4 separate regions of the Homo sapiens genome follow, and regions 1, 2 and 3 are each linked to region 4. The links are contacts of gene promoters, found by promoter capture Hi-C in blood cells and fetal thymus (Javierre and others, 2016). All regions are on one chromosome and are shown on one strand. The core of a region is centred on a gene start or on the middle of the fragment in contact, and the rest is flanking DNA. Distances in the headings are between cores, read along the strand shown.

Region 1 (4,406 bases), core at 179-2,678, 210 kb before region 4:
GAAATGGCAGCTGGCCACTAGTCGTAAAAATGTTGATAATGGATTTTATTTGTCTAGCATCTATACTGGGCGTTGTGCAGAATGCTTCACAGACACGATCTCGCTTCATCCTCACAACAGCCCTGTCAGAGAGTTGCTAACGTTACTCCCTGTCTGCTTAAGGAGTTGAATCTGGGAGCAGGAAGCTTAGCGGTCCCCTAGGTAACTCTCCCAGTCACGCAGCCAGTGTGTGGTGGAGCCAGGATTTGAGCCCAGGTGGTCTAACTGTAGAGCCTGAGATCTTAGTCACAGCCTGCTTGAAGCCGAGAGTGCTGACTTGTGTCAAATGGTAGGAGGCCTGGGGAAGCATGCAGCCCCTCTAACCTGGCTTCCCCACAGGGAATGGCATTGCTGCCTTTGAGTCGGTACCCACCGCCATCTACTGCTTCCTACGCTGCATGGAGCCAGACCCTGAGATCCCTTCTGCCTTCAATAGCCTCCAAAGGACTCTCATTTATTCCATCTCACTTGGTGGGGACACAGACACCATTGCCACCATGGCTGGGGCCATTGCTGGTGCCTACTATGGGATGGATCAGGTGCCAGAGAGCTGGCAGCAAAGCTGTGAAGGCTACGAGGAGACAGACATCCTGGCCCAAAGCCTGCACCGTGTCTTCCAGAAGAGTTGATGAGGGCTACAGCTGTTGGGGCTCTGCCAGGTCCCCTGGGACCAACTACAGCTCCAATCAGAAACCCTGCGCTTCCTTGAGTGTGGCTTCCCACTTTTCCTGCATTGTGGAGCTGACTGAGTACACCGGTGAGGCTGGGGTCTCTGCAGGGGAGGTCACTGGAACAGCGAGCAAGGGACTGGTGCCTCGCTGGTGCTGGGTCTCTGGTTTGCTGCAGAGCCGTAGGACACTCCTGGCTCCTCAGTAGGACAGACAGACGCAGGCGGGTTTATTTTGGAGGGGTACTTGTGGCATTTTCCTGTATTGTCTTGGACATGGGATGTGGGGAGGTGGAAATGATGAGCAGTAGCATCATTTCTCCCTGTTGGGTTTTAGCCAGTTTGCCAGCAAGCGCATCCTAGCAGGGTCCCCGAGCAGCAGGTTGTGTGGATGAAGGGACAGGCACTTGCATCCAGCTGATCTAGGTCACACCTGGCTCTTGGCTGCCATGTGGCTTATTAACAGCTTCCAGTGGAAGTCGCAATAAACAGTTTTTGGTAAATCTCACCACTGTTTCTTGTTTCTCCTGCCCTGAATGGATTCTCCCCTGCCAGCCTGATCTCTGAAGACTAGTGCCTTTGTCTGTGCTGCACTGTCATAGAAGCTGGGGCCCCAAGGCCATGAGCTGCTGTGTTGCCAGGCACTCCAGCTGGCTGCGTGTTCAGCCAGGAAGGGCACAGCAGGCATGGTCTGGTGGCTTTTCCTGTTAGAGATCACTCAAAGTGGCCCAGGCTGCTGGGCCGAGTGCTTTGCCAGAGGCAGCGGGTAGGAACAAGCCAGATTTTTCTGTTCTCAGAGCCTGACTTCCCCAAACAGGAGCTAGGCCCAGCTGGGCCAGGAACAGGAACCCTGTAGAAGGATCCAGAGGGCCCTGCTATCATCAGACTACCAACCTTTGGGTGGGGAGGGCACCATCACGGGGCCCCGGGTGGACTGAGTGCCGTGTGCCTCCTCCTGTATCTTGGGACCAATCAAAAGCCTTTCCCTGCAAGGAAGTTTTACACAGCATGTTTTTAGAGATGGGGTCTCACTCTATTGCACAGGCGATCCTCCCACATGGGTTCCCAAGTATCTGAGACTAGCATCCATTCTGAAGAAGGGAAAATTGAAAGGGGGAAGATGCCTCCCCTCAAACTCCAGGGACATTCTCTGAGCATCCAGCCTCAGTGGCTAGCCGAGCATGTGCAGTCTGCAGCTGCCCTGCGGTTTCAGCACTCTCGGGCAGATCTGTTTTAGTGAAGATAGGGTTCTGGCTAGGCTGAGGACTCTTCAAAACACAGATTGCTTCAGGTCTGCCACCCAGACCCCCAGCGCCAGGGACAGATCTTTCGTGGCTGAGCATGGCAGGCTGTGAGCAGGTGCTTTCCGCCCAGGACAGCTCCCCCAGCCTGTCTTCAGCACTGGGCCTGACACTAGCCCAGCCCTTAGGAGCAAAGATTCATGATTTCATTCATAATTTGTATCAGATGTTGAAACTTGGCCCTCGGACTACTGAGCCAGCTGTCATGCTCCACTAGCCCTGAGAGCTTGCAGGAATATTCCAGTAAAGATTGAGCCATCGCCCCCAGCTCCAGCCACTACCTGCCTTTGGTTTCTTAAAATGCCTCCTGGCATTTGCCTGGCGCATGGCCTCAGCAGCTTACGAGCATCAGGCATTTGTGATGTGGTGGTGACAGAAATCCAGGTTAGGGAGCTGGTGAGGAGTGCATGATCCTTAAGAGCAGGCACACAAGCCCCAGAGAGCTTCCTGGACACCTTACAGAACCCAGAGGCTTGAGATACCTCTGTGTCAGTATCAGTTTCAGCACAGTGCTGTTTTATACAACAGGTTTTATTGAGGATGTGTCAATACAGTTAACATGGTTGCTTGTCTTTTCAAAAAGAAGTTCCATTTTCTTTGATTCCCAAGTGCATTTTTCCTGAATCTTCTGTGATACAGGGCACATGATAGGTATGTAGAGAGCTAAGCTTCCTATACCAAGTTAGAAGTGAAATGACTAGTGGAAAACATTTAAACTTTAATCTTAAAAAAAAAATAGGAATCAATATAAAAATGCACAAGGTAATGTCGTTTTCATAGTTAAAATCTGACATTGTTTATCAAAGCTAGTCAGTTAAGTGGACACCTGCAACTCAAATCCCATAAACATTTTAGAAACGCCAACCACCCCTCCTGAAAGGTTTGAGGAATGAAATTTGGCAGAAGCTCAGCTCTGTGAAATAGCTCCCGTTTTTTTTCTTGGGACCCTACTTAGTTCCGTGGGCTCCCATTGGGAGCTGATTAATTTCTGCCAATCAGAACCCATCCCTAACACATCAGATGATAGTGGCTTTGACCTAGGGAAGAAGAGGTTGAGCGAAGAACCCCCACCAGGTATGGTTTGAGAGTCCTTAGTTGGTTTTCTTGGGCGTTAGGTAGTAAGAAATCCACCAGGAACCCCAGCCAAAACCTTCTCAAGTGTCACTTGGGCAGATTTGGGTTATCATTCCTCCTTTTGAAGAAGTGAGCAAACAGCCTGCTTTGTTTGGAGAAGTTGTGGGCAGGGGAGGAGGGTTGGCAAGGAACCTGAAGGAACCCACTGCTCAGCCAGTCAGAAGTCAGCAGCCATCCTCCATTTTCAACATGGACCGCCTGGACACAGCCAGACTTGGAGCAGTGCAACGAGATCACAGACCGAATGACCCCAGTTCACACTTGGTACAAGGAGTGGGGCTGGCCTGGCGAGGGCCGAGCGCGAGGCCCTGCAGCTGCGGGGAAAGTGGCCATCTTTGCACGAGCAGGAATGTCCACCACTCCCAGCACTCATCTCAGCCTTATCCACTCCGCTTGACGTAGGGACTGAGGGGTTGGGAGGGGCATCCTGCCTGTTTCCTGCAGAGGAGCTCTGATCGGGGAACAGGGCAGAAACGTCCAGAGCCAACTCATTCCCAAGGGACCTGTTGGCACCCTTTCTCTCCCAGCCTTAGCCTCCTGGGCCCTAGTCCTGCTTAGAACAGGAAATTGGAACCAGAGGGTGGAAGGAGAGGAAGCCCCCACAGATGAACCCCTCTTGTACACACATACACCCACCATATGGTTCTTATTAAGGAAAAGGAAGTGGGAGCCGTCTTCATCCCCCAGCTCGCGTGCACCTTGTTCAGAGGGCCAAACGAGAGGTGCTCTGCCTTGGGGATACCTGGCTGGGGTGACAAGGATCCTCTTACAATTTTGTATTGAGAAAACCAGCCCAGCCCGCAGCAGGTGGAAGGGGAGAAAGGGAAGAGTGCTCATGTTTGCTGATGGTCGATTCTGCCTCCGCCACCATCTGCACTAGATACTTCTAGACACTTCACAGAGGTTGATCTTTCTGGCCTGTAGGTGTCCCAGGGGCCTCTGTGCTGCCCTCAAGCTAAACAGCCAGAGCTGGCGGGGGCAGCCCGGGAGAGACAGGGATGAACGTGAAGAGCTGCCTCCTGCCCCAGGTCTGTGCCCCAAGCCCTCACAAACTGCCTTCCCCATGGCTGCCACTGGAGCAGTGAAAGGGAGGTTGCCCTTTCCCAGGGCAACAGGCACTGTGCCCACCACGGACATGTCTGATGCCACAGCATCACCATGGGGGCTGCAGTCCTGGCAGGGTGTCCACACTCGCCACCTCGATGGTCCCCTCTTCTCCCTTCCCCTTGGAGGAAAACCCCACAGTCCTTAGTCCACTGTCATAT
Region 2 (4,465 bases), core at 991-3,490, 140 kb after region 4:
GCACTGAAACAAGAAAGAACCTGCAATAAACTGGGTTTTCTAACCTTTTTCTTACCATAGCCTACATAAAATGTAGCATTTGCAAGGAAACAGGCACAATTGAAAAGCCACACATAAGTCCTCAAAAGAGAGAATATGAAGAATTTTCCACAGACTTACGTAAGCCAGGGAGGAGGAGTGCCAAAGAAGAATTCAAGTTGAAGCATCACATCAACTCTGGTTAGGTTAATGCTTACAAAGGGCTGCTATTCACCTAGGTGCTGAGTCATTTCTCTGGGGTCTTTGAGCCCTTATTAGGAGCTAGGGAAATAGCTTACACCCAGATAAATCAGTTCTGGACGAAAGAATACCCCAAGGTGATTGTTAGCTACTCGGGCAAAGTGAAAAGCAAAATGAAGTCTTTCCCCGTGGGAAGTGAAGAAGCTCTGGAGCACCATGGCTCCTGGCGCCAGCATCCAGACAGTTCACCTGCTGGGAAGAGGACGGCGGGGTCTGTCCTTGTGGGCAGAGCAGTGAGTACAAATGCCCCCAAAGAGGAAATGGCAGTTTAATGGTTGGGCCACGACACCTAGGGCTCCCTCTTCTCGTTTCACTCTTTGGAAATAAGATGGAGGCACACGTTAACATGTTTTTGTCTTACAATTTGCTTCACCCAGCCCTTGGTTGAGGCAGACCTATTAGGTACCAGACAGTGAAATAAACACCACAGGCACAAAGAGGAAGGAGATGTTATCCTGGCCCTAGAGAAGCAGCACATCATCTTTAGGTTAAACCTGAGAAATAGTTTTTTTAAAAAATTTAATTAGCGTACGGGCGCGGTGGCTCACGCCTGTAATCCCAGCACTTTGGGAGGCCGAGGCGGGCGGATCACGAAGTCAGGAGATCGAGACCATCCTGGCTAACGCTGTGAAACCCCGTCTCCACTAAAAAAAAATACAAAAAATTAGCCGGGCGTGATGGCGGGCGCCTGCAGTCCCAGCTACCGGGAGGCTGAGGCAGGAGAATGGCGTGAACCCGGGAGGCGGAGCTTGCGGTGAACCGAGATCGCGCCACTGAACTCCAGCCTGGGTAACAGAGCGAGACTCCAGCTCAAAAAAAAAAAAAAAAAAAAAAGTAATTTGTTTTTTATTTTTTTCCCTTCATCCTAACATCCCTGAAGAAATAGTTTTAATCAGACCCGCCCATTAGTCTAAGTGTTGGTTTTTGGCATGCAAATGAGTTCTGCATACTTTTCACGAGGCCGGAATATACTAGGAGCCGGATTTCAATAGGAAGAGGCTAAGGGGGGCCGGGCGCAGTGGCTCACGCCTGTAATCCCAGCAGTTTGGGAGGCCGAGGTGGGTGGATCACCTGAGGTCGGGAGTTCAAGACCAGCCTGACCAACATGGAGAAACCCCATCTCTACTAAAAATACAAAATTAGCCAGGCGTGGTGGCTCATGCCTGTAATCTCAGCTACTCAGGAGGCTGAGGCAGGAGAATTGCTTGAACCTGGGAGCGGAGGTTGTAGTGAGCTGGGATCGCTCCATTGCACTCCAGCCTGGGCAACAAGAGCGAAACTCCGTCTCAAAAAAAAAAAAAAGGAGGCTAAGGCAGGGGAGGGAAGGGATTTTTCACAGGAGCCTCAGAAAGTTGGTAATTGGGTTCTCAACATAGCAAGCTTCTAGTCCTGGGTTCAGATTATGAAGCCAGTTTCTGTTCATTATTTTTGAACATTTATGTTAAAATAAATTTCAATGATTCAATTATGTATATGAAAAGCTCTCAAAATCCACACTTCATACCTGAAATTCTGCTATGCATCAAGGGAGGGACGGGTCAAAAATTGCTCAAGAAGTGTCAAACGATGGTTGTGAAATGTAATAAAGTGTACCAAGTACTTCAATTGGGCTTTTTTTCGAGACTGGTCTGATGAAATAATTATCTTGATGAAAGCAATCAAGTTTTTACCAATTACCTCTGCTCTAAATTGACTTGTTTATGGGAATATGAAATTTGGAGCCAAGAATTTAGAGAGAGGCTAGGAAACCCTCCTGAATAGTTACCATGTTTCAATCCTTTCTATGTCCCAGGCACTGGGCTTAGAACTTTATATGCATTATCTCATTTAAACTCCAAGACAACTCTGAATTATTATCCTCATTTTTTTTTCCTGCCAGACCACTTATCGTTTTATATTATCCTCATTCTATTAAGGAGGAAAACTGAATCAGAGAGTTTAAAGTCCAAGGTCACACAGCTGGTGATGGAGCTGAAATTAGAATTAGGTCTGTTTGATTTAATGCCTGTGCTTTTAAATATTATTATTATTATTATTATTTTTGAAGTGGAGTCTCGCTCTGTCGCCCAGGCTGGAGTGCAGTGGCAAGATCTCGGCTCACTGCAACCTCTGCCTCCCAGGTTCAAGTGATTCTCCTGCCTCAGTCTCCCAAGTAGCTGGGATTATAAGTGCCCACCACCATGCCCAGGTAATTTTTGTATTTTTAGTAGAGACAGGGTTTCACCATGTTGGCCAGGCTGGCCTCGAACTCCTGACCTCAAGTGATCCTCCTGCCTCAGATTCCCAAAGTGCTGGGATTACAGGTGTGAGCCACTGCACCTGGCCTCTTAAATATTATACAGGTTGTCTTCCCAGCATACTTGGTGTGGTGAGAGCATTTAAAATATTGAGGAGGATGGCTGATGATAGGCACACACCACACCCAAATGTCAAATGACAGAAGGTATCTGAGATTTATTTAAAGGCTGAGAAAGTCTAAGGCTTTATTCTGAGGAGTCGACAACTTTTTCAGGTTTCCTGCTTGCAGTAGGTAAGGGGAAACTGAAGCTTTTGCATGATGAGGCCACACTGCATGCATGATGTCATGCCTTCTGCCCACAGTCCTGGCAGCCATGCAGTTACATGCTTCAATTTTTCTCGGTTGCTCTGTGAGCTTAGGAGAATGGCTCAGGGAGGGTCACTCATGTTGAAGCACAATTCTTTGGTTACATGACAAAACAAAGTTGTTTTAAGGACTACCAAATAGGATGACATACCCCAAAGTATGGCTATTGCCCCAGCTGTCCCAGCAAAGCTTGGAACTGAGAAAAGGAGACATATCCCTCAAGTACAGTGTGGCTTTTTGGTCAGAGTTTGCTTAGTTTTCATCTTAACATGCTGTATTTCTTCCTCTTAAGTAAAAGATTCAAATGTATAACCAATATCTCAGCTAAAGACAAACTCATGCCTATTTTCTTACTTTGACTTTGAAATGTTTCAAGCGGTCCCATTTTAAGCCCTGCTGATAAAGGCCTGAGTGAACCTGTGGATGCACACTGAACACATGCAGCCCGGAGATAGCATACCTCGTTTTCTGTCCACCTCTGTCCATTCATCTACATGAAGCATACAAAAAGAAAACACCAGTTCATGAAGCAAGAACATTATTTTCAAGGAGGCTTTAAACATACCAATTCCAATGATCTTATCTATGAAACTTTACTTTTCACGTTGGCATTTAATGTCTAATGTGAGCACACTGCCTTCTATTTGAAACCTTTAAAAGGATGATGGATAAACAACATATTTCAAAAAAGCTCAAGAAAGGCTATGTCTTACAGAGACTGGCCTAAGAAGAGAGTAAACTGAGGAGGATTAGCTATCCTGTGGTTCATCTTGAAAGGCCCAAGAAGCCCCGCTCTCTAATGCTACAAGAATACATATCATTCAGTAGTAGGCTTTTAAAGACGCTAGCCTCCATGAGGAAGAATAATTCCAAGAACAGGCAGAGAAAAGAGTTTCTTTGTATACAATCTGAGTTTTCTTTTCTTTTCTTTTTTTTTTATTAATGTAAGATTTCCCTTTCTAGAGGACAGATGGAACTGCTCAAATTAGAAAACTTGAAATGTGAATTAAAAGGAAAATGTCAGCATTTGTTTCTGTTTTACTTTTTATATATATAGATGCATGATTTCCATGTAAAAAGAAGCGAATAATGATGGGACCACTATGAAGAAAGCTTCTGAGGACAAAGGCAGCTGGGGAGATCCCAAGAGGAGACCAAATAAGGAAAAATGCAGTTGGCTAGAGAAATCGGTGAGAATCAAGACTCTATGGGTTGAAACCTGGCTCTACTTACTGGCTATATAAACTTCAAGCAACTTGTTTAACCTCAGTTTCCTTCGTAAAATAGGGATCATAATAGCACCTATCTTACAGGCCTATTGTGGGGATAAAGCATAACACACATCAAATACTTAGCTGGCTTCCCTTTGAGTTCTGTTTCCTCTACTGAGGGACATTAGACACCACCCATAAAGGATGGAAGATGACTTTTTTCCTTTCCTTAATTTTTGATGGAGATTTCAATCTAGAAGAACCACCCCTAGATAAAAAAGTTCTATACACATCTGTATTTCAAAAACATTTTGGCGAGGCACAGTGGCTCATGCCTGTAATCCCAGAACTTTGGGAGGCCAAGATGGGC
Region 3 (4,702 bases), core at 1,365-3,864, 190 kb before region 4:
GCAGCTCCGCGAGGTCTGGGAAGGGACTTGGCGGGGGGTCCAGTGCCCACGAGCTGAGCTCTCTATCTACTGTGCAGATAAGGACTGCCCCAAAGCCAAAGAGGAGCTCAGAATCTGGGAGCTGGAGGGTGGAGGGAGGTGGCCAGATCAGGGCAGGACTGCCTGGGGGCCACCTTCTCACCCAGGTTGAAGGCAGGAGAGGAGGGCTGCCACCTGCCCACCTGGTCTGCCCTACCAGACTTCAGTTCCACCTAACAGTCCCAACATCCCTCACCCCTGCAAGTGAGGCTCCCAGACCACAAGTGGCCTCAGTTTCAGAAGTAGCATCGGAAGGAGGCTTGAAGGAGAGATCAGAGTTCAACAGGCCCACGGGGGCAGGTGATGGTGGGACGGTCCAAGCTGAAATCAGAGCAAATGACTGGATGAGGAAGGCTTCCAGGGTAGGGGGGCAACCAAGGAGCAGTGAACCTGGGGCTCTGGAACTCGGGAGAGAGACATGGGCTAGAGGTAAAAATACAGGTTCGTGGCTGGGCGCGGTGGCTCATGCCTGTAATCCCAGCACTTTGGGAGGCTGAGGCAGGCAGATCATGAGGTCAGGAGATCAAGACTATCCTGGCTAACATGGTGAAACCCCATCTCTACTAAAAATACAAAAAAATTAGCTGGGCGTGGTAGAGGGCGCCTATAGTCCCAGCTACTCGGGAGGCTGAGGAAGGAGAATGGCGGGAACCTGGGAGGCGGAGCTTGCAGTGAGCCAAGATCGCACCACTGCACTCTAACCTGGGCGACAGAGCGAGACTCCATCTCAAAAAAAAAAAAAAAAAATACAGGTTCGTTGGCGGGGTTGCTGCAGCCTGGAGGAGGCCCACGGATTCCCCCTTGGGGAACACGCCTACATTTAGGGAGTGAGTGGAGCCCACCACAGCCCTGGGCTCCTCCCCCAACACACTAGGATCCAGACAACCCAGACGTCTCACTGCCTCCCTGTCCCTGCCTTTTCCTGCATGATCCTCTCTGCTGGGTTGCCCTTTCTACCTTTCTCCTCCATGGAAACATATTAGTTCTCATTTAAGACCCAGCTCAAAAGCCTCCTCCTCCAAGCAGCCTTCCCTGCCTCCCTCAGGCAGAACAGCTCCTTCTGGGCACCCACCTGCATGAAAGCACCTCTTCCCCACCCACACCTCCCTCCTGCCTGAGGCGGGCACAGGGCATGTGCTCGATGAAGCCTGTAGCCTGGGGGCTCCAGGTCCAGGCCTCTGAAAAACCCACCTCCCTTGTCCAGCCAAGCCCTCAGGTGGCTTATCACAGGGCCACTTTCTCTTTGTTGCTCTTCCTGAGTCCTTCTTGGTTCTGGGCTGGAGGGGGCTTGGACCGAACTCCCTCCTGCAGGTGACCAAGCCCCTGGCCTCTGCCCATCTCTGAGTCTAGGTTCTCCGCTGCTTCCCTAGGGAGGAGCATCTCAGAATAACAAAGTGCCCAGGAAGGTAAGAACAGCCGGGCAGGGGCAGATGGACTAGAAAAGGCCCGGCAGTGGGCAGACCTGAGGGCAGCCATGTACCCTCAGGCAGGTAGCCAGGCAGCTGGCCCTTCCCCACCCAGGGGCTCCGGCCTCAGCTGGGGCCGTCGCTTGCCTCCCAGCAGAGGCCTTGAGCTTCTGATGGGAACTGGACATCCGAGGGCCCCTACAGACCCAGCCACCCCCAGGCCTCAGGCAGGGGCAGGCGGGGCCTCCTCAGCCTCCAATCCCTCACCTTCTGGTTCGCATTTGCAGCCTTTTCCGGAGCGCCACCCGCCACCCGCTGCCTCCCCACGCCTGCCAAGATTCCTGGGCCTCTGCGGCTACCCTGCGTGGTGGCGGCAGCAGCGGCAGCAGGAGGGGCTGGGCTGGGCAGGGAGGGGGCCTGGCGGGAGCACAGCCAGGCCACTGCACCCAGGCTGGGCCAAGCAAACACGGCCCCGCCAAGGAGCCAGGCGAAATAGTTCACAAATGAGAAAAAGCTGCTTCCGAGTTGGGCCAGGGTTTTAAAGCCCGGGCTGCAGGGAGCTGAGGTCACATACAAAAGGGGTGGCTCACAGGACTCTCTGGGCCTGGGAGGGGCTTCCGGTGCAGCAGGAGGGAGTGAGGTTAGACAGCAATGAACACAGGCCTCATCTGGCCTGAGATATCAGAAAACCCCATCCCCAAACCTAGCTTACCTTTCAGGTCGGAGGGGCCTGGGAAGGTTCCAGCAGAGGCAGGGCCTGAGGATGAACAAGAGAAACAGTGAGGCTATGGGGCAGTGGCTCAAGCTTGTAATCCCAGCACTTTGGGAGGCTAAGGTGGGAAGACTGCTTGAGCCCAGGAGTTTGAGACCAGCCTGGGCAACATAGGGAGACATTGTCTGTACTAAAAATTTTAAAAAATTAGCTGGGCATGATGGTGCACGCCTATAGTCCCAGCTACTTAGGAGGCTGAGGTGGGTGGTATTGCTTGAGCCCAGGAGTTCAAGACTGCAGTAAGCTATGATTGCACCACTGCACTCCTGAGACAGGGCAAGACTCTGTCTCAAAAAAAAAAAAAAGGAGGAACAGTGAGACGATGACATCAGGAGCCTGGGAAGCCTCCTGCCCTAACCCACAGCCACACCAGTGCCTGCCCCGGGCTTCTTACCAGAACCCCCTGCTGGAAACCCGGCCCCAGTCTCAGTCTCTCTTCTCAGTTCCCTCCTCCCCTGAGGGAAGCAGGGTATGTGCCCCATACTCCACAACTCCATTCATTCAGTGCACACTTAGCAATACCCACGGGGTGCCTGGCCCTGGATTCAAGGAGTTCCTACTGTCCTAGGGCCCAGGCTGAGGATGCCCCTTCTGTGTCCCGGGTTCCCATGCTGGAGAAGTCCCTCCCATATGTCAGCTCTGGTTTGGGGTGGCCCCTACTTTGGGTTAGGATCCCTGCTGGGGAAGCTTCTACTATGTGGAGGACCCAAGCCTGGGTCATGGACCACAGAAATGGTTCAACCCCATACCCTGCCCTGCCTTGCCCTGAAGGGCTGGGGGCATCAGACAAGCGGTCATCACACAATTGGCAAAGATCTCTGGGCTGTGGGAGCATGAAGCAGGGAATACTGCCGACTTAAGCTTCCCCTGAAGGCTTCATGGAGAAAGGGACACTGCAGCTGGGTCCTGAAGGATGAGTCGGAGTCTGAAAGGCAGATGAGGTGATAGAAGGAATTTCAGGTAGTAATATACAGGGAAGGTCCAGAAGTGCTGTGGGATGGGGAGGCTGGGGCAACATGGTGAGGAAATCTGAATGCCATGCTTGCATTTCTCTGGAGAGCAATGGGGAGCCATGGAGGGTTATTTAGTGGGGGAAGTGATGTGGTCAGAGCCCTGGATGGCTAGGTCCCCATTTCTGCCTCAATCAGGTGTGGTGCCAGGATCTAACAAAAGTCGTAGTCCAGGTCACATAGCTGTACGCAGAGGATCCAGAGCTAAAGTCCAGACCCAGACATGACTCCGGGGTAGATGGGGAGGGGATGCCCAGCCAGCCCACCTGGCAGGGAGGCCTGCAGGCCGCGTCACTCTCTCCCCCAGCTGCTTGCTTGCCTCTGCCTGCTCCCATGGAAACTCTGACATCCAGTCCTGTCTGTAGCTGCACAAGCAGCCAGATGCTGGAGCCAGCAGCAACTAGGCCTTCTCTCCAACTCAGCTGAGCCCTGCCTCCATCCTGCCACTCTGAACACTATGACCCCAGAGCTGGGTCATGGGGCCACAGCCTGGATGATGGAGCCCAGGTAGGAGGACCCTCCAGCTCAGCTTAGCCCCAGCTTCTCCGGCCCCAGCCCCGTCCCTGCACCATGAGACTCTGGGAGAAGAAATGACTTAAGCTGGCTCTGGGCTTTGAAGGATGAACATGGATTTAACTGGTTGGTAGTGGAGAGAGGTGATCAGTCCTGGGCCAAGGCAACAGCATGTGTGAGAGTGTAAAAGCCCTGAATATATTCAGGGGATGGAGAGAATCCAAATAAAATAGACAAACACATGAACTAACTAATCATAGCTAATATTCATTGTGTACCCACTGTGTGCCAGGTACCGTTCTGGGTGTTCTCATGAATTATCTCATTTAATCCTCACAACAACCCAGTGACAAAAGTATTTCATCTTCCCTTTTTACAGATGAGAAAACTAAGGGACAGAGAGGATAAGTAACTGGCCCAACATCACACAGCTCATGAAAAGTAGAGCCTGGAGCTGGGCACAGTGGCTCACACCTGTAATCCCAGCACTTTGGGAGGCCAAGGCAGGAGAATCACTTGAGTTCAGGAGTTTGAGTCCAGCCTGGGCAACATAGTGATACCCCCATCTCTTAAAAAAAAAAAAAAAAAGTAGAACCTGAATTTGAACCCTGGCTGCAGGCTCCAAAGCCTAGGCTTTTCACCATACAGATGATTTGAGGAGAGGAGACCTGGCTGGGGCCAGACTGAGAAATGCCTTGAATATCAGGATCAGAGATGCGGATCCTACCTAAAGCTGCTTCCCCATTCCCTTCCCCCATGTTAACCGTTAAGAACAACGGTGTCTGCATCCCAAGTTCATTGTATGCACTGGACATAGCACTAGGCACACTCCTGGCACTATTGGCTCCTGTAACCCTGGAAGGTTGGAACTGCTGTCCCATTTTACTGAGGAGGAGCACTGGGTCCCAGAGAGGTCACATCCA
Region 4 (4,449 bases), core at 1,671-4,170:
GAATTAAATGAGATAGTACATAAATGTCTTACTTCAGTGCTCAGTGACGTTTTTATTTTCTTTAAACTATTAAGGGTTCTTGCTCAGTGAATCATCATCATTGTCAATCATCGTTACAATGCCCAAGCTGTTACCTTAAAATTCCTAAATCACCCAACTGATATTCTCATGGATCTGAACCACTGGCATTTTTGGAGTGGGGGACAGGGAGAAGTGCAGAAAAGGATCAAAAGGCTGGGTTAGGGCACAGGTTCTTTTGGGAAAGGCACATTTGGGTGCGTGCAGAGAAGAGAGCTCTGGCCACATCTTGTTCACTCTGGCACTGATGGCAATTTTCTTTCCCCTCAGCATGATGACCGTGAAGGCGAAGGCAGTGACAAGTGGGTGAGCCGGGGCCGGGGCCGAGGAGCCTTTCCTCGGGGTCGGGGCCGGTTCATGTTCCGGAAATCAAGTACCAGCCCCAAGTGGGCCCATGACAAGTTCAGTGGGGAGGAAGGGGAGATTGAAGACGACGAGAGTGGGACAGAGAACCGAGAAGAGAAGGACAATATACAGCCCACAACCGAGTAGGGGCCACCCTTGACGGGATTCCTGCCCAGGGGAGAGAGGCGCTGGGAAGATGGCTGGTGAGGAGCTTAACAGAGGAACCTCAAGAAGATTCTGAAAATCCTACCCCCACCCCCCACCAGCCGCACAGATTGTACTACCGCGAGAGGCATCCCTGGCGCTGTCTCCCACTGGACAGAGGAGGCTGGCCATGGGGCCCAGGGGTCAGGCCCAGCTTTTGAGCAGAATACAACGCATTGGGCTTTAGCTGTTTTTCTCATTTGTTGGTGTGTGGGGTGGGGGCAGGGGTAGGGCGGGAGAGCGATGCTTGGATTTTTGTTTCCTATTAGAAACCAACAGTTTTGTTCTAATTTCATTTCATTTGGAGCTAAGATGACTAATTTGATGATTTTCGATCTCTTTTCCCCTGTCCTGATTTTAAAAGCCCCCTCCTTTTTTTTTTTTTTTTTCTTTTTTTAGGCATATGTAGTAATATTAGAAACATTTAATTTGGGAAACTTTGATTCTTGAAAGAGAAAACAAAAGCATGTGAATAAACTTTGAAGTGTTCACCTCAGTTTGGGACCAAACTGCTTGGATCTTTGTAAAAACCGGTTTTGTATGTCAAGGAGGAGTTTAAGGCCTTTCCGACCACCTTGTGTTCCCCTTTTCTGCGCAGCCATGTATCACGTGGAGTTGCTCCTTACCACACCTCACGTGCCCCTGAGCCCTATTTCCTGATTTCTTCTGGGCTGGACTTCCCCGTTCTCCACCAGCAGCTCCAGTATCCCAAACTTTCTAGTCCTGCTGATCCTCCCAGCAACGGGGTGGAAACTGGAGGGCAGTGTCTGGTCTGTTTTCTAAGAAACTTATGAATTCTATTATCTTTACAAATATGAGAAAATTTTTTCAATATTTTTTATTAATCTTTTTATAAAATGAAAAGAAACTCCTATGATCGATTAAGGAAGGTGGTTATGGCTGGGTGGTTCAGGGGTTTTTTTGGGTTTCTTTTTTTTTTTCTTTGTCTTTTTAACCTTAAGCTGTTTAAGTTGAAGCATTCTCAGATGTTTGGGGGGAAACATCCTCTTAAAATGGGTCCTTGTGCTTGCCTTCTGGGGAGGCGGTCCTGAGCAGGTGAATCATAAGGCATTTATGCATATGTTATATGCGGACTGCACCCACCTCTCCCCCCCAGCCTTTGCCTCTTGCGTTGTTGTGCTGCTTTCCCCTTACTTTGCTACATTTCTATAGTTAAGTTGGTTTTACTTGAATGATTCATGTTTAGGGGGAAAATGAAAATCTCCCTTAAAATTTGTTTCAACTCCTCCTGCAAATAAAATAAATGAAGTGGCAGATGTAAACGGGTTCTGTTCATTGTCATCCTGAGTGTGTGTGTGTGTTGAGGGTGGTAGATAACTTCCCACGGCAGTTTCAGAAAACCTGAAAGACAAAGGGCCTGTGGGGCCTTGCGCAGGCTGCTGGAGTCCCAGACAGACACAGTCCTTCCTGGGAGGAGCATTGTGTACCTTGGACACCCCAGGAGAAACAGATTTTTTCCACTGGTGTCATAGGCAAGGACTTTGGCTTCCTTCATCATGGTGGTGGGGCAGGGATCAAGGGATGTGGTTAGTAGGCTCAGCCTTCTACCTGAAAGAGCCTATCCCACATGGACTGGCCATAGGGTGGGCCCTAACCTTCAGACTCCTGCCGGCTGGGGACTCAACTGTGAGCAGAAATCTTGGAAGCTGGTAAAATTCATTCTCCCGGCCTAACTCCCAGGGAAAACCTGGAGGTGTTTTCTGAAACCAAACTAGACCTCTGGCCCCAAAGCAGGGGTCTTTGCTGTGTCCTTCCTATATGGGGGTAGAGAGTGGGTACGGGGCCAGAGAGGAGTACGCCTTGAAGGAAAGCAGACTGGAAGTGTCCACTCAAAGCTATTGCTGGTACAAGGGCAGCCACTTCATTCACTCAAGGCCGGTTTAGAGCGGTTGCTACTTGCTGGGGGGCCCCACCCTGGTATGTGCCTCTCCCCACCTTTTCCCCTCAAGCCAAAAGCTTGTGAGCTGGGGAAGGGTGGGCCTGGAAAGGCTCTGTGCAAATTGTAGCTGGGAGCCTCCGGGCAAAAGCTGAGGGAAAGGGAGAGGCGGCTGGCCTAAAATTTAGGTGGGCGGAAGAACCTGTGACGGAGCTGTGACCGCTGCACAGGCCAGAGACCCTGGAGTCCTCCTCACCCCGGGGTTGGGGGCCGGACCTGCTGAGCCGGGCCGCCCCCTCTCCACACCCACTCCCAGCACCTGGCCCGACCTATCGGCTGGCGGCTACGCCTCCTTTACCCTACTGTCTTGCCTCAGGTCGCACCCTGCGCGGGCCCAGTACTCGGCCGTCAGAGGGAGCTGCCAGGCTCTGGAGGGCGCCCCGGAAACCATGGGTAAGTGCGGAGGCTTTGAGGTGGCCTCTCTCTGCAACCGTGGACATAGCAAGAGCCCACACCACCCCCCGACCCCCGCTGCCCTCTACGGTGCTTGGGGACACGCCCGCCCTAGCCAGGCTGCCCGGCTGGGCCTTTCTGAGCCGCACGCCGGCCCCGTCTTCCGCCCGCAGAAGTCCTCGTCCTGGCCGGATACCGCGCGCAGAAGGAGGACGAGCTGAGTCTGGCGCCCGGGGACGTGGTCCGGCAGGTGCGCTGGGTGCCCGCGCGGGGCTGGCTTCGCGGAGAGTTTGGGGGCCGCTATGGCCTCTTCCCCGAGCGCCTGGTGCAGGTGAGGCCGAGCCAGGGGCGGGCTGTGGGGTCTCAGCGCGCGCCCCCCGGGAGCTGAGAGCGCCTTCCCCGTGCCCTGATTCCCAGGAGATCCCAGAGACCCTGCGGGGCTCCGGAGAGGCGCGGAGGCCGCGCTGTGCGCGCCGCCGAGGTGAGCGCAAGGGCGGGGACGGGCGCCGGTGGGCGGGTGCACGGAGCCAGTGCGACCCCGGCGTCTCCGGCTCTTAGTGACGGGCGCGGCTCTGGGCGGGACCTCGGGGCCGCCCTGCGGTCTGTGATTGGTTCTCGAGTGCAATGCTCCGCCCTGGGGCGGGGCTGGAGGGACCAAAGGCTACGTGCGCGCCTTGCGCTTCCCCCAGCTCCTCTGACTGGGGCGTCCGACTGGAGCTCAGCCGCGCTTGTCCGGTGCTAGGTCATCCTGCCAAACACCCGAGGCCCCAAAGATGGTGCAAAGTGAACTTCAGCTACAGCCCAGAGCAGGCGGACGAGCTGAAGCTGCAAGCTGGGGAGATCGTGGAAATGATAAAGGAGGTGAGGGGTGAGGTGATGGGACCGTTTGGGGGAGGATGATGGAACGCGCCTCCCTAGTGAGCGGGGTGGGAAGTGAGGGTGTGGACGGTGGGAATGGCGACGGTGCAGATACGGGGAAGCGCGGGAGGGAAGGAGGGAGGAAGGGGCGCTTGGGCAGAACCAAGGGTGGCAGATTATCCTAGGGACTCTTGGGGCAGAACCAGACGCCTCTGCGTCCTCCCCTCTCCCCAGATTGAGGACGGCTGGTGGCTGGGGAAGAAGAACGGGCAGCTGGGAGCCTTCCCATCCAACTTTGTGGAATTGCTGGACAGTGGGCCCCCAAGTGAGACCTCGACTCTGTGACCCTGTGACTCGCAATCTCCAATGACCCTCCCAGTGGCATGAGCCTGTGATTCACATATCCTGACCCTGTGACCCCTCTGACCCTCTCCCATGACCTAACCTGTGAATTAGCACCCTCCCTAACCTCACTGTCCCCCACTAGGCCTTGGTAACCCAGACATGCCTTCAGTCAGCCCTGGTCCCCAGCGGCCTCCCAAGGTAAGTTGGCTCAGAGTAGGCACAGAGGTGGTGAGTTCCTCTTGGGGTGGTTGGAGGCTCATCTAGTTCCT

What was found. The method cuts DNA at HindIII sites, captures the fragments that hold promoters and counts their contacts. A CHiCAGO score of 5 or more calls a contact.
Region 1: a fragment that was not itself captured here is called in contact with the fragment with the promoter of SH3D21 in region 4 in 3 of 17 cell types (endothelial precursors, activated CD4 T cells and non-activated CD4 T cells); the score reaches 7.1 in endothelial precursors.
Region 2: a contact is called between a fragment that was not itself captured here and the fragment with the promoter of SH3D21 in region 4, in 9 of 17 cell types (M1 macrophages, M2 macrophages, erythroblasts and 6 more). The highest score is 7.3, in M1 macrophages.
Region 3: a contact is called between a fragment that was not itself captured here and the fragment with the promoter of SH3D21 in region 4, in 2 of 17 cell types (erythroblasts and endothelial precursors). The highest score is 6.0, in erythroblasts.

Annotation. Positions count from the first base shown.
Region 1 is chr1:36,092,719-36,097,124 of GRCh38, forward strand. ADPRS (ADP-ribosylserine hydrolase) reads left to right here. Exons shown (of 6, transcript NM_017825.3): 6 at 379-1,214. The coding sequence ends at 668. COL8A2 (collagen type VIII alpha 2 chain) reads right to left here. Exons shown (of 4, transcript NM_005202.4): 4 at 2,521-4,406. Among named protein-coding and RNA genes, the nearest start is that of ADPRS, 6.0 kb to the left of the region's middle. The HindIII fragment of the contact is 2,490 bases long and covers 184-2,673 here.
Region 2 is chr1:36,440,660-36,445,124 of GRCh38, forward strand. The region is part of intron 1 of OSCP1 (organic solute carrier partner 1); the gene reads right to left. It overlaps LOC107984940 (a long non-coding RNA gene), which reads left to right. Exons shown (of 3, transcript XR_001737976.2): 2 at 3,942-4,074. Among named protein-coding and RNA genes, the nearest start is that of OSCP1, 7.6 kb to the right of the region's middle. The HindIII fragment of the contact is 1,167 bases long and covers 1,658-2,824 here.
Region 3 is chr1:36,113,512-36,118,213 of GRCh38, forward strand. It overlaps COL8A2 (collagen type VIII alpha 2 chain), which reads right to left. Exons shown (of 4, transcript NM_005202.4): 2 at 2,197-2,241. Among named protein-coding and RNA genes, the nearest start is that of COL8A2, 9.4 kb to the right of the region's middle. RefSeq lists enhancers at 478-1,418, 1,419-2,359. The HindIII fragment of the contact is 654 bases long and covers 2,288-2,941 here.
Region 4 is chr1:36,303,448-36,307,896 of GRCh38, forward strand. It overlaps SH3D21 (SH3 domain containing 21), which reads left to right and starts at 2,921. Exons shown (of 16, transcript NM_001162530.2): 1 at 2,921-2,977; 2 at 3,151-3,308; 3 at 3,395-3,458; 4 at 3,720-3,838; 5 at 4,070-4,160; 6 at 4,323-4,378. The coding sequence starts at 2,974. It overlaps THRAP3 (thyroid hormone receptor associated protein 3), which reads left to right. Exons shown (of 12, transcript NM_005119.4): 12 at 349-1,910. The coding sequence ends at 570. RefSeq lists silencers at 2,962-3,011, 3,232-3,671 and enhancers at 3,169-3,969, 3,772-3,821. The HindIII fragment of the contact is 29,085 bases long and covers 2,603-4,449 here.